Linked DNA regions of Homo sapiens: regions 2 and 3 are each linked to region 1. The links are contacts of gene promoters, found by promoter capture Hi-C in blood cells and fetal thymus (Javierre and others, 2016). All regions are on one chromosome and are shown on one strand. The core of a region is centred on a gene start or on the middle of the fragment in contact, and the rest is flanking DNA. Distances in the headings are between cores, read along the strand shown. Region 1 holds the start of HDHD5 (haloacid dehalogenase like hydrolase domain containing 5). Region 2 overlaps BID (BH3 interacting domain death agonist). Region 3 overlaps BCL2L13 (BCL2 like 13).

What was found. The method cuts DNA at HindIII sites, captures the fragments that hold promoters and counts their contacts. A CHiCAGO score of 5 or more calls a contact.
Region 2: a contact is called between a fragment that was not itself captured here and the fragment with the promoter of HDHD5 in region 1, in 1 of 17 cell types (neutrophils). The highest score is 5.2, in neutrophils.
Region 3: a contact is called between a fragment that was not itself captured here and the fragment with the promoter of HDHD5 in region 1, in 1 of 17 cell types (neutrophils). The highest score is 7.1, in neutrophils.

The regions. Positions count from the first base shown.
Region 1 is chr22:17,157,720-17,160,865 of GRCh38, forward strand. It overlaps HDHD5 (haloacid dehalogenase like hydrolase domain containing 5), which reads right to left and starts at 1,558. Exons shown (of 8, transcript NM_033070.3): 1 at 1,407-1,558. The coding sequence starts at 1,532. HDHD5-AS1 (HDHD5 antisense RNA 1) reads left to right here and starts at 1,670. Exons shown (of 2, transcript NR_024483.1): 1 at 1,670-2,118. RefSeq lists a silencer at 1,240-1,569. The HindIII fragment of the contact is 6,885 bases long and covers 804-3,146 here.
Region 2 is chr22:17,767,422-17,770,567 of GRCh38, forward strand. All of the region lies in intron 1 of BID (BH3 interacting domain death agonist), which reads right to left. Among named protein-coding and RNA genes, the nearest start is that of MIR3198-1, 4.7 kb to the left of the region's middle. RefSeq lists enhancers at 903-952, 973-1,022, 1,093-1,152. The HindIII fragment of the contact is 6,348 bases long and covers 1-3,146 here.
Region 3 is chr22:17,730,049-17,733,194 of GRCh38, forward strand. It overlaps BCL2L13 (BCL2 like 13), which reads left to right. Exons shown (of 7, transcript NM_015367.4): 7 at 1-807. Among named protein-coding and RNA genes, the nearest start is that of MIR3198-1, 33 kb to the right of the region's middle. The HindIII fragment of the contact is 3,564 bases long and covers 1-3,146 here.

The DNA.
Region 1 (3,146 bases), core at 308-2,807:
TATGTGACACTGGCCAAGTCACTCAGCTGCTTTGAACCTTAGCTGCTCCATATTTAAAAATCATAAAAATAATACAGCTGTTAAGAGCTTAGACTCTGGCACCAGACTACCTGAGTTCCAGATTCTGCCACTTACCAGCTGTGTGCCCTTGGGTAAGCTGCTTAACCTCTCTGTGCCTCTGCTCCATCTATAAAATGGGAAGACTAATAATAGTACTTTCCTCGGAGTTGTTATAAAGATTATACGAATAACTGTGAAGTACTTAGAATAGTGCCTGGCACAAAGTAAGCACTATGTGTTTTTTTCATGCAAGTAATTTGGCCGGGTGCACTGGCTCATGCCTGTAATCTCACCACTCTGGGAGGCCAAGATGTGAGGATCATCTGAGGTCAAAAGTTCGAGACCAGCCTGGCCAACATGGTGAAACCCTGTCTCTACTAAAAATACAAAAATTAGCCGGATGTGGTGGCGGGTGCCTGTAATCCCAGCTACTCGGGAGGCTGAGACAGAAGAATCGCTTGAACCCGGGAGGCGGAGGTTGCAGTGAGCAGAGATTGCGCCACTGCACTCCAACCTGGTGACAGAGATGCCGTCTAAAAAAAAAAAATGCAAGGATTACTGTGAAATCCGTATGTTAATGTAAAATATTACTTGTGCGTTTAGAAGACAAAGTGATTCCTTTTTCCAGAAAAGGCAAAACGGCCCAAGGGAGCGTGAGAGCCGTGGATCTGACCAACCTGGTTTAGTGTCCTGTGCCGTCTCCCAGCTGCAGGACCTGAGAAAACGTACTTGAAAACTCGTCAAGCTTCGGCTTCCTGACCACACAAGGTCACACCTTCTCAGAAGTTGCGGGGAGGCTCACACATCACTACCGCGCCGGGCACACAGCAGGCGCCGGCTCCAGCCCTCCTGCTCCCGCCCGCGGAGCCTCCAGCGCTCAGTCGAGGTCACAGCGAGCTGAACTGAACCCAAGGCCCGCACCAAACCCACAGGCACTTGGGGGCGGAGCACCCGCAGGCGCGGCTCCCGGCGCGCGGCCCAGTTTCCTCCACATGCAGATGAAAATCACGACCCAAACGTCCTCATGGTGGAAATCAGAAGACGCGCAGGGAAAACAGGGACGCGGAAACTGCCGGGAAGCGCAGGGGCTGACAAGCAGCCTGGCCCAGGCCGTCCCACGAGCGCTCTCCCGCGGGAGTAGCGTTTCCGAGGCCGCCAGCGAGTCAGAGGAAGGCAGGGCGCATCCGCCCTCCAGCAAGAACGCGATGCACTCGGGCGCGACGACGGTCCAGGCAGTTCCCAGGAGGCTGGGATACCAGCCCGGCCGCCCCTCCTTCCCCGCGGCTCCCCGCCCCGCCTCCGGCCCTGAGTGGCGAGTGGCTCGGCCAGAACCCGGACGTCCTCACCTGAGCGGGGCCCACAGCATAGCACCTGCGGGCGGGGCGGCCCTGGAGCCCCGCAGCCGCGCGCGCCGCCCGCCAGCAAAGCCCACGCGCCGCGCCGAGCGCAGCCACACAGCCCCACGCAGCCATCCGGCCGTCGCCGTGCGCACGTGCACGGCGTGCGGCCCCCCCCCCCCGCGAGTCCGTCCGCTGCACAGCCAATCAGCGGTCGGCGCGCGCGGCATCACGGGAGTTGTAGTCCTGTAAGCGCGCGGAGCCCGTCGGGCGCCTATGGAACTCGACCCGCAGGCCAAAGGGGCTCCGTTGCAAGGAAGAAGTGCGGGGTCCCGCCGCCTCCTAGACCGAGATCGCGGTGAGCTGGCCGCGGCGCACAATGGGCACGGCCTGGGCGGCGGCGTCCGTACTATCGCCCTGTGCCTGCGGATCCCGGTAACATTGCGCGGCAGGCCCCAGGCCGGCCTCCCTCAGCTTCGCGGACTGTCTGGGCCGGGGGTCTCAACCTTGACTTCAGGGCCGGGCCGCTGGGGCAGACCCTTAGTGATGTTCAGGTCCTCTGGGCCCCTGCCAGTCAAGGGACGCTCGTCGCGCGCCAATTGTTAAGTCTTTCATTGTTTCTGTAAACCTGCTGACGCCCTCCCAGCGCATAGGGAGACTGCGCACGTGAGTCCGCCCCCGCGCGCACTGCGGAGAGGTAGAGGCACGAATGTAGTACAAGGTACAAAATGACTACTCCAGAGAGGGCCAGATGACTAAGTCAGCAAACACTTAGGGAACACGACTGTGTCCGCTGCGCGTTTCCCGGAGTAGACACAAGGGTGAATGAACAAAGAATGGATTTCGGTCACTGAAAGTGGAGAGGTAGCCGACTCCGTCCGTGGAGGCCCTTAGCAGAGCTGGATCTGGTAGTCCCCCGGTCATGAGGGGAGATTCTGCTGGAGGAAAGAGGTCTCCATTCCCACCGTTTGAAATGTGTAGGATGCCCTCAGATTCTTTGGCCCATTCATAGGTATAGCTATGCTAAAAACGCGGGACCCTACAATGTACTTAGCACTAGCAGAGAGGGAGTCGAGGATATGGACAGAGACTGCACTAGCTCACACATTAGCAGGCCAGGGTGCGGTGGCTCACCCCTGTAATCCCAGAACTTTGGAAGGTCAAGGTGGGAGGAAAACTTGAGTCCAGGAGTTCCAGACCAGCCTGGGCAACATAGGGAGACCCCTTCTCTATTTTAAAAATAATAAAATAGGGCCGGGTGCGGTGGCTCACACCTGTAATCCCAGCACTTTGGGAGACTGAGGCGAGTGGATCAGGAGGTCAGGGGTTCAAGACCACCTAGCCAAGATGGTGAAACCCCGTCTCTGCTGAAAACTGCAAAAATTAGCCAGGCGCGGTGGCAGGCGCCTCAAGTCCCAGCTACTCGGGAGGCTGAGGCAGGAGAATCGCTTGAACCCAGGCAGCAGAAGTTGCAGTGAGCCGAGATTGCGCCAATGCACTCCAGCCTGGGTGACGGAGTGAGACTCCGTCTTGAAAAAAAAAAAAATAATAATAATAATAATAAAATGAAGAAGTAGTTAGCGGTGTCCTTTGGTCCTCAGCTTTGAAGGGCAAGATCTTAATTCAGTTCAACTACAGCTAATCAGAATTTGGAAGACTAATTCAAGTCAGTCAAACTCACAATAGCCCGACACTTAAACCCTGCCAGGGGACATAGCTCTCTAGGATTGCAATGTTCCTAATCCCTTC
Region 2 (3,146 bases), core at 1-2,500, 610 kb after region 1:
GGCCTTTCTGAATTACAACTTCAGCCCCAGGGCAAGAGTAAACACAGAAACTGGAAAAGTCCCTGGACCAGGTGTCAAAGAGGTATCCTTCCCGGTGGACACAAAATTCTGAATTGAATTGAGCTCAAAAGAGGCTAAGGACACAGAGAACGAAGTCTGATCATCCAGATTCTCCGTATCTGACCACAGAGAACTGATCTCTGTCATCCGCCTACAAAGATGAGCAAAACAATATGACCACAAACCAATGCTCAATCACTGATGCCACCAAGCCATGGGTAAGCCCGAAACCAACAGAACACAGAGTCAGGGGCAGGGGAAACAGAGACACGGAGAGAAAACGGAGAAACAGCGTCCGCGAAGTGAAAAGTTCCATTGCTGCTTGAATTTGCCTCTGGTAGCCAAGAAAAGGCCAGCACTGTGGGAGGCCAAGGCAGGAGGATCACTTGAGCCCAGGAGTTTGAGGCAAACCTGGGCAACACAGTGAGACCCTGTCTCTACAAAAAATACAAAATAAAAAATGAAGGAAACATTGACACCTACTGTAACATGAGTTACAGCAGTTAACATGAGTTGAAAATATGCTACATGAAAGAAGTCAGTCACAAAAGACCACGTAGTGTGTGATTCCATTAGTATGAAATGTCCTAAATGTGCAACTCCATAGACAGAAAGATTAGGGCTGCCAGGGCTGCGGAGCAGCCACCAGTGTGTCTGGAGCTTCTCTTTGGGTTACTGAAATGTTCTGCCTGTAGGCGGTGGTGACGGTCGCACACCGTGTATATACTAAGCCACTGAACTGTGCCCTTTGATGGGTGAATTTTATGGCATGTGCAGTATGTCTCAATCAAACGGTTTTTGAAAAGGCAGCCAGCAGGAGGAGACATGAGGAGGCAAGAGCCTCTTCAGGTGACTGGGGCCCCCTCCCAGAGGTCGGAGGCTCCACCACAGGCCCCAGAAGTCAGTGGACCCCTATGCTCCAGGTCTTTGTGACCCGGGAGTCCTGCCTCCCTCCCCTGCCCAGGCCCTGGGCTTCTGGGTGGGGCATGGTGGATGGCAGGGGAAGGCAGGTGTCCCTCAGCTACTCCAGAATCCCTGGTGAGCCTCTGGTGAGCCTCCTGGTCCGCCCCTCCCTGAACTCTCTGTAGACTCTGTCATAAAGAACAAGGCTGGGCCGCAAGGTGGCTCACGCCTGTAATCCCAGCACTTTGGGAGGCCGAGGCGGGTGGATCACGAGGTCAGGAGATCGAGACCATCCTGGCTAACACGGTGAAACCCCTTCTCTACTAAAAATAGAAAAAATTAGCCGGCATGGTGGTGGGCACCTGTAGTCCCAGCTACTCGGGAAGCTGAGGCAGGAGAATGGCGTGAAACTCGGGAGGCAGAGCTTGCAGTGAGCCGAGATCGCGCCACTGCACTCTAGCCTGGGCGACAGAGCGAGACTCCGTCTCAAAAAAAAAAAAAAAAAAAATTAGCCGGGCGTGGTGGTGGGCGCCTGTAGTCCCAGCTACTCAGGAGGCTGAGACAGGAGAATGGCGTGAACCTGGGAGGCGGAGCTTGCAGGGAGCAGAGATCGTGCCACTGCACTCCAGCCTGGGCGACAGAGTGAGACTCGTCTCAAAAATAAATAAATAAATAAATAAATAAATAAATAATAACTAAATAAATAAAGAACAAGGCTTTCACCACATCCCAGGCAGAGTCCAAGTCAGGGCAGAGCCTCACAGAGCACAGCAGGGCCTGTGCCGTGCCAACGCCATGCCCCTGCCTGGCAGAAATGCCACCCAGCCCCTGGCAGAAACGCCTCCCCTCTCCTATGGAGGGGCTGATGACCCAGGAGCGGCTGGCTGCTGGTGTGAGTACACGGGTGACCCTTCCACAAAGGCCCCTAGCTGGGCTCCCTGCTCAGTTGGCCGGGTTTGGGGCTGGATGTCTGCAGGGGTCCTCAGGGATACCCAGAGGGAGAAACAAGGCTTTTGGGGAAATGGTGACACCTGGGGCCAGGTTTCTCACAGCCAGGCCCCATCTCTCCCTGCCTGGATTTCAGGGGAAGTGGGGCTTGGGTAAACAGGAACGGACGTGGCCATCAGGCCGGAAGGGTGTGTGGGCCACAGAGAAGCACCCTGAGGCTGTGCTGTCATCCAGAGTGCCACCCCGCTTTTCCAGGGCACAGCAAGGAAGTGCCTGCTGGAAGGATCCTGGGGACAGTTGTTAAGGCAATTTTATCTTCTCATAGCATGCCTGCCTCAGTTCCGCAGCCAGGACGGTGCCTTACTGACTCCACACACAGAGGCAGCTGGGTCCAGGAGGCAGCCATCCCAAACGCAGTGACCTCCAGCACCCAAAGCTCAGAGTTCCCAGCTGAACCCAGGAGGCACCCACCTTCCTGTCTCTAGGCAGATGCCAGCTGGTGCAGGAGCCACTCCCAGTCCCAATACCAGGCCTGGTCACGTGGTGCCCCGCCAGGCTTGGGGGTGTGCACTTGCCCGCTGGCCTCCGGTGCCCTCAGGCCTAGCCTCATTGTCACAGGAACGGAGCTCCTCGGGGATGGCCACCTTCCTGGACTTACCCCCAGGAGGGACACGCTGCTGCCTCCCAGGGCCCTTCGTGCCACTGGCCCCTTTCTTTCCACCCCCATATGCTACCCCTGCCTACTCCCTTCCCTGGCCCTGGGTTGCCACTCCTGTCCTGTTCTCCTGCTGTCCCCACCCCAGCCCTGACCCCAGATGGCTCTCCCTACAAAAACACCAGAACCCCAGAGAAGCTCAATCCCCCAAGTCCATCTGCATTTTAAGAAGCCCTCACGCACTCCCAGCCCAGAGAGGGAAGCTGTAAAGGTGGACAGGTCATGTCGGGCTTTGAACCTGCAATGTGATCTCACCTTCCCCGTCTGTAAAAGGGGACACTCCCTGCCTTGTGGGATCACATGCAGTATCAGAAAAAGCACCTGACATGTGACATCCACTTACAAAGGGTTTTCCCTTCTCTTTGGTTTTGGGGGAGAATGGGAGAGGCCCAAGCAGAAGCTCCTGGAACACCGCCCATCCCGGACCCAGGGTTGTAGTCACCTGAACACTCACCCAGACAAGGGAAACTTCACAGAATGAATGTGAGGAATAAAATGAGACATTCAGTTACACAAATTA
Region 3 (3,146 bases), core at 454-2,953, 570 kb after region 1:
AGGTGAAGGAAAGATTCAGAATAAATCCAACTTGTTTATAGAAAAGTTCTTGTTAGTCCTTAGACCTCATCTCAACTGCTCTGTTGAAGGTAATGATTTATTGGGGGGAAAAAACAACGCCAATTTATCCTCTCTGTATTAAAGTGATAATTCTGGGCCCACAGAAATCAGTCAGTACCTGCGGTGTGCCTTAAGGGGACTCTCATGATCATCATTCCCTTCTAGAGAACATTCTAGATGAAGAAATGCAACTGTTGACCTTCTGGTTCACCCATCTCCCCCTCGAGGCATTCTTGATACCCCTTCTCACCTGCATTTCTGTCCCAGGGATACCAGATGCAGCCACTACCTAACTAGGCTTGTCCTGGGGGAGTGAGCCGTGAACCTGGAGACATGGCTTTGACCCACAGCTACTGTTCATTTCCTCAGGCTTTGCGCTGATTCCCTCAATAATATGACAGTAAGGCAAGTAGTCTCCTTGCCTTTCTCCTGAAAGGTATGAGATGTGGACATTTCAGTGTTTGAATTATTTTAAGAGATGTTTTATAGAAATAAAACGTTTTGTAGCTAAGAATTTTCCCTTTCTCTTAATTTCTTACATCTTTCCACACAAACTTATCTTTCCAAGAATTTGAGGTGGTGATCATACCCATCAAGACGGCCTTGTAGGCTATCTGATTGCTAACAGACACGACCTAGAGCTTCTGCCCAAATTCCCACACAAGCATTATCTCGTTTAACATCTCAGCGACATACTGGATACCAGAATAATGTTTCCTCTTCTCTGGTGCACCAAAACCTGCCCTTAGTGATAATCTCTCAATTATGACATTCATTTGAGTTTAGGGTGTATAATTTTTCCTAAAAAAAATTCATGTCGATAATTATATTTTAGCAAATACTAGTTGAGCATTTATAACATGCCAGAGACGGTTCTAGTGCTCTCACATACCTTATTTCACCTTCACAGTTCTAATAGCTGTTTGTATTCCTTTTATTCCCATATTACAGAATGAAGAACCTAATCAGAGTTTGTTAGTTTTTCTTTTTCCTTTTTTTTTTTTTTTTTTTTTTTTGAGACAGAGCCTTGCTCTGTCGCCCAGGCTGGAGTGCAGTGGCACAATCTCGGCTCACTGCAAGCTCCGCTTCCCGGGCTCACGCCATTCTCCTGCCTCAGCCTCCCAAGTAGCTGGGACTACAGGCGCCCGCCACCATACCCGGCTGCTTTTTTTGTATTTTTAGTAGAGACAGGGTCTCTACTATGTTAGCCAGGATGGGCTCGATCTCCTGACCTCGTGATCCACCCGCCTTGGCCTCCCAAAGTGCTGGGATTACAGGCGTGAGCCACCGTGCCCGGCCCAGAGTTAGTTTTTCTAACGTCCTCAAGCATAGGCGAGGCAAGGCAATGATTTTGCCGGTTTTTATCATTTTCCTGGCACTGCAAAGCAGTATTGGCAGGTCCCCTGCAAACAGTTGCGCCAGTTGTTTACTGCATAAGGACTGACTGGGGACAAATTCCGACGTGCAGCCTGTGCTCTGCTCACCATGCTGTGGGCTCTGGGAGAAGCGAAGTATTTTTCTAATTTGTACAAAGGCACCATATAGGCTCACTTAAACATTAAGCATGTTCTACTACAAAAAAACAAGAGTGAGGGTTAGGTCCAGGACTGGTCTCAGCTTCCAATTATGTAGCTGTTTTCCCTGTAGACATTGAGTGAGATGCTTTGTGGTTACAGAATTCACAGTCATTGCCGATGAGCTTTCATTAGCTTTCTTGATTAAATATTTTTGCTTGTAGACAAGGTTAGGCAATCTGTCCCAGCAGTTATCACAAAGTGCTAAATGAGGGGGGTGAAGACAGCACCACGATGCATTTCTTGGTCTTTTTCTGTTTGTTCGAGTTCGTCCCTTCTCCCCTGTGTATGCCATCATAAGGGTGGGGCTGTGGAGTGAAGTAGGGGAATACCTGGAAGCATTGCTTGGCCTCTGGACAGACAAAGAGGTTGGGGACTTAGGAGGGTTGACCAGGTATGGCCACAAGTACGTCAGCTCCTGGAGGATCTTCCCAGTGAAAAGCCTCCTACTACATTCCACAGCACTTCATGGTAATTATAACCTTGGCTAGATAATACCTGCTGTATGGTACAGAATAGTGACATTCAATTACCTCATATATAAAGAGAGCTCCATGGAGAGCTGGAAAGTGCATGCCACTACAATATTAACACATCCCATCTTCCCTTTCTTTTTGCAAGGCTGTTGAATTTCAGCCCGGCATCCCCACACACTAACACCATCAGGTCTTCCACATTTGATGGTTACACCACAGGAGCCCACACCAGACTGCTGCTTCCCTGTGAGCTCAGAGTGAAATTGTTCTCAGGGGTATTTGCAAGGCCTTGTCATCAGTTAAAGACTAGCAGCTGACTCCAGGTGATTCTACCCCGCTGTCACCTCTCCAAAGGGGAAATTGAATAGTGGTATTGCTCACTGTGGTGAGTGTTCTTTGCACCACCAGAAGAAACTGGTTAATGAATGTACTATTTAGAAGAAAAGTTTTGACATTTAAAGATTACTAGTTGTTCCCTTTCCCCAGGAAAAGAAGGTCAAAGTACAGTCTTCCCTGTTGCAGAGTTTGGAATAACTCTGTTTGCCCTGATGCTTTCCAGCAGGAGAACTGTATTATGTAGAGGGGTCCTTGGCCAGCATCAAAGGAAAAAAATTATTTTTTTCCTAGACCTGTATTTTTCCTATTACAGTCTTCCATTTATTTCTTCCTCCAGATTAAAAGTGCCTCTTCCTACCTCATTCCTTAATTAAGGTCAATTTAGTGTTGGCTCAAATGCTTTCATCTCAAAAATACCGGAATTGAATGGTAATTTGGATAATTAAGTTATCGTGCATTTTAAGCAGCATGTGTTTCCTTTTTCCGTGTGAGTTCCATGAGCCTCTGCACTGCCGCTCTGCACTGCTGAACTGATCACTGTGGGTCATTCTGGCTCCTCTTCCTTCCTGTCATCTACCTTTTGGCCAATCTACTCTTCATCAGGGGAAAGGAACAAACTTCAAATCTGTGAGTTATTCTTTCTGTCAGAAGCAACGTGCTAGAGAGAATACATGGGATTTGAAGATAATCAGTGGACTCA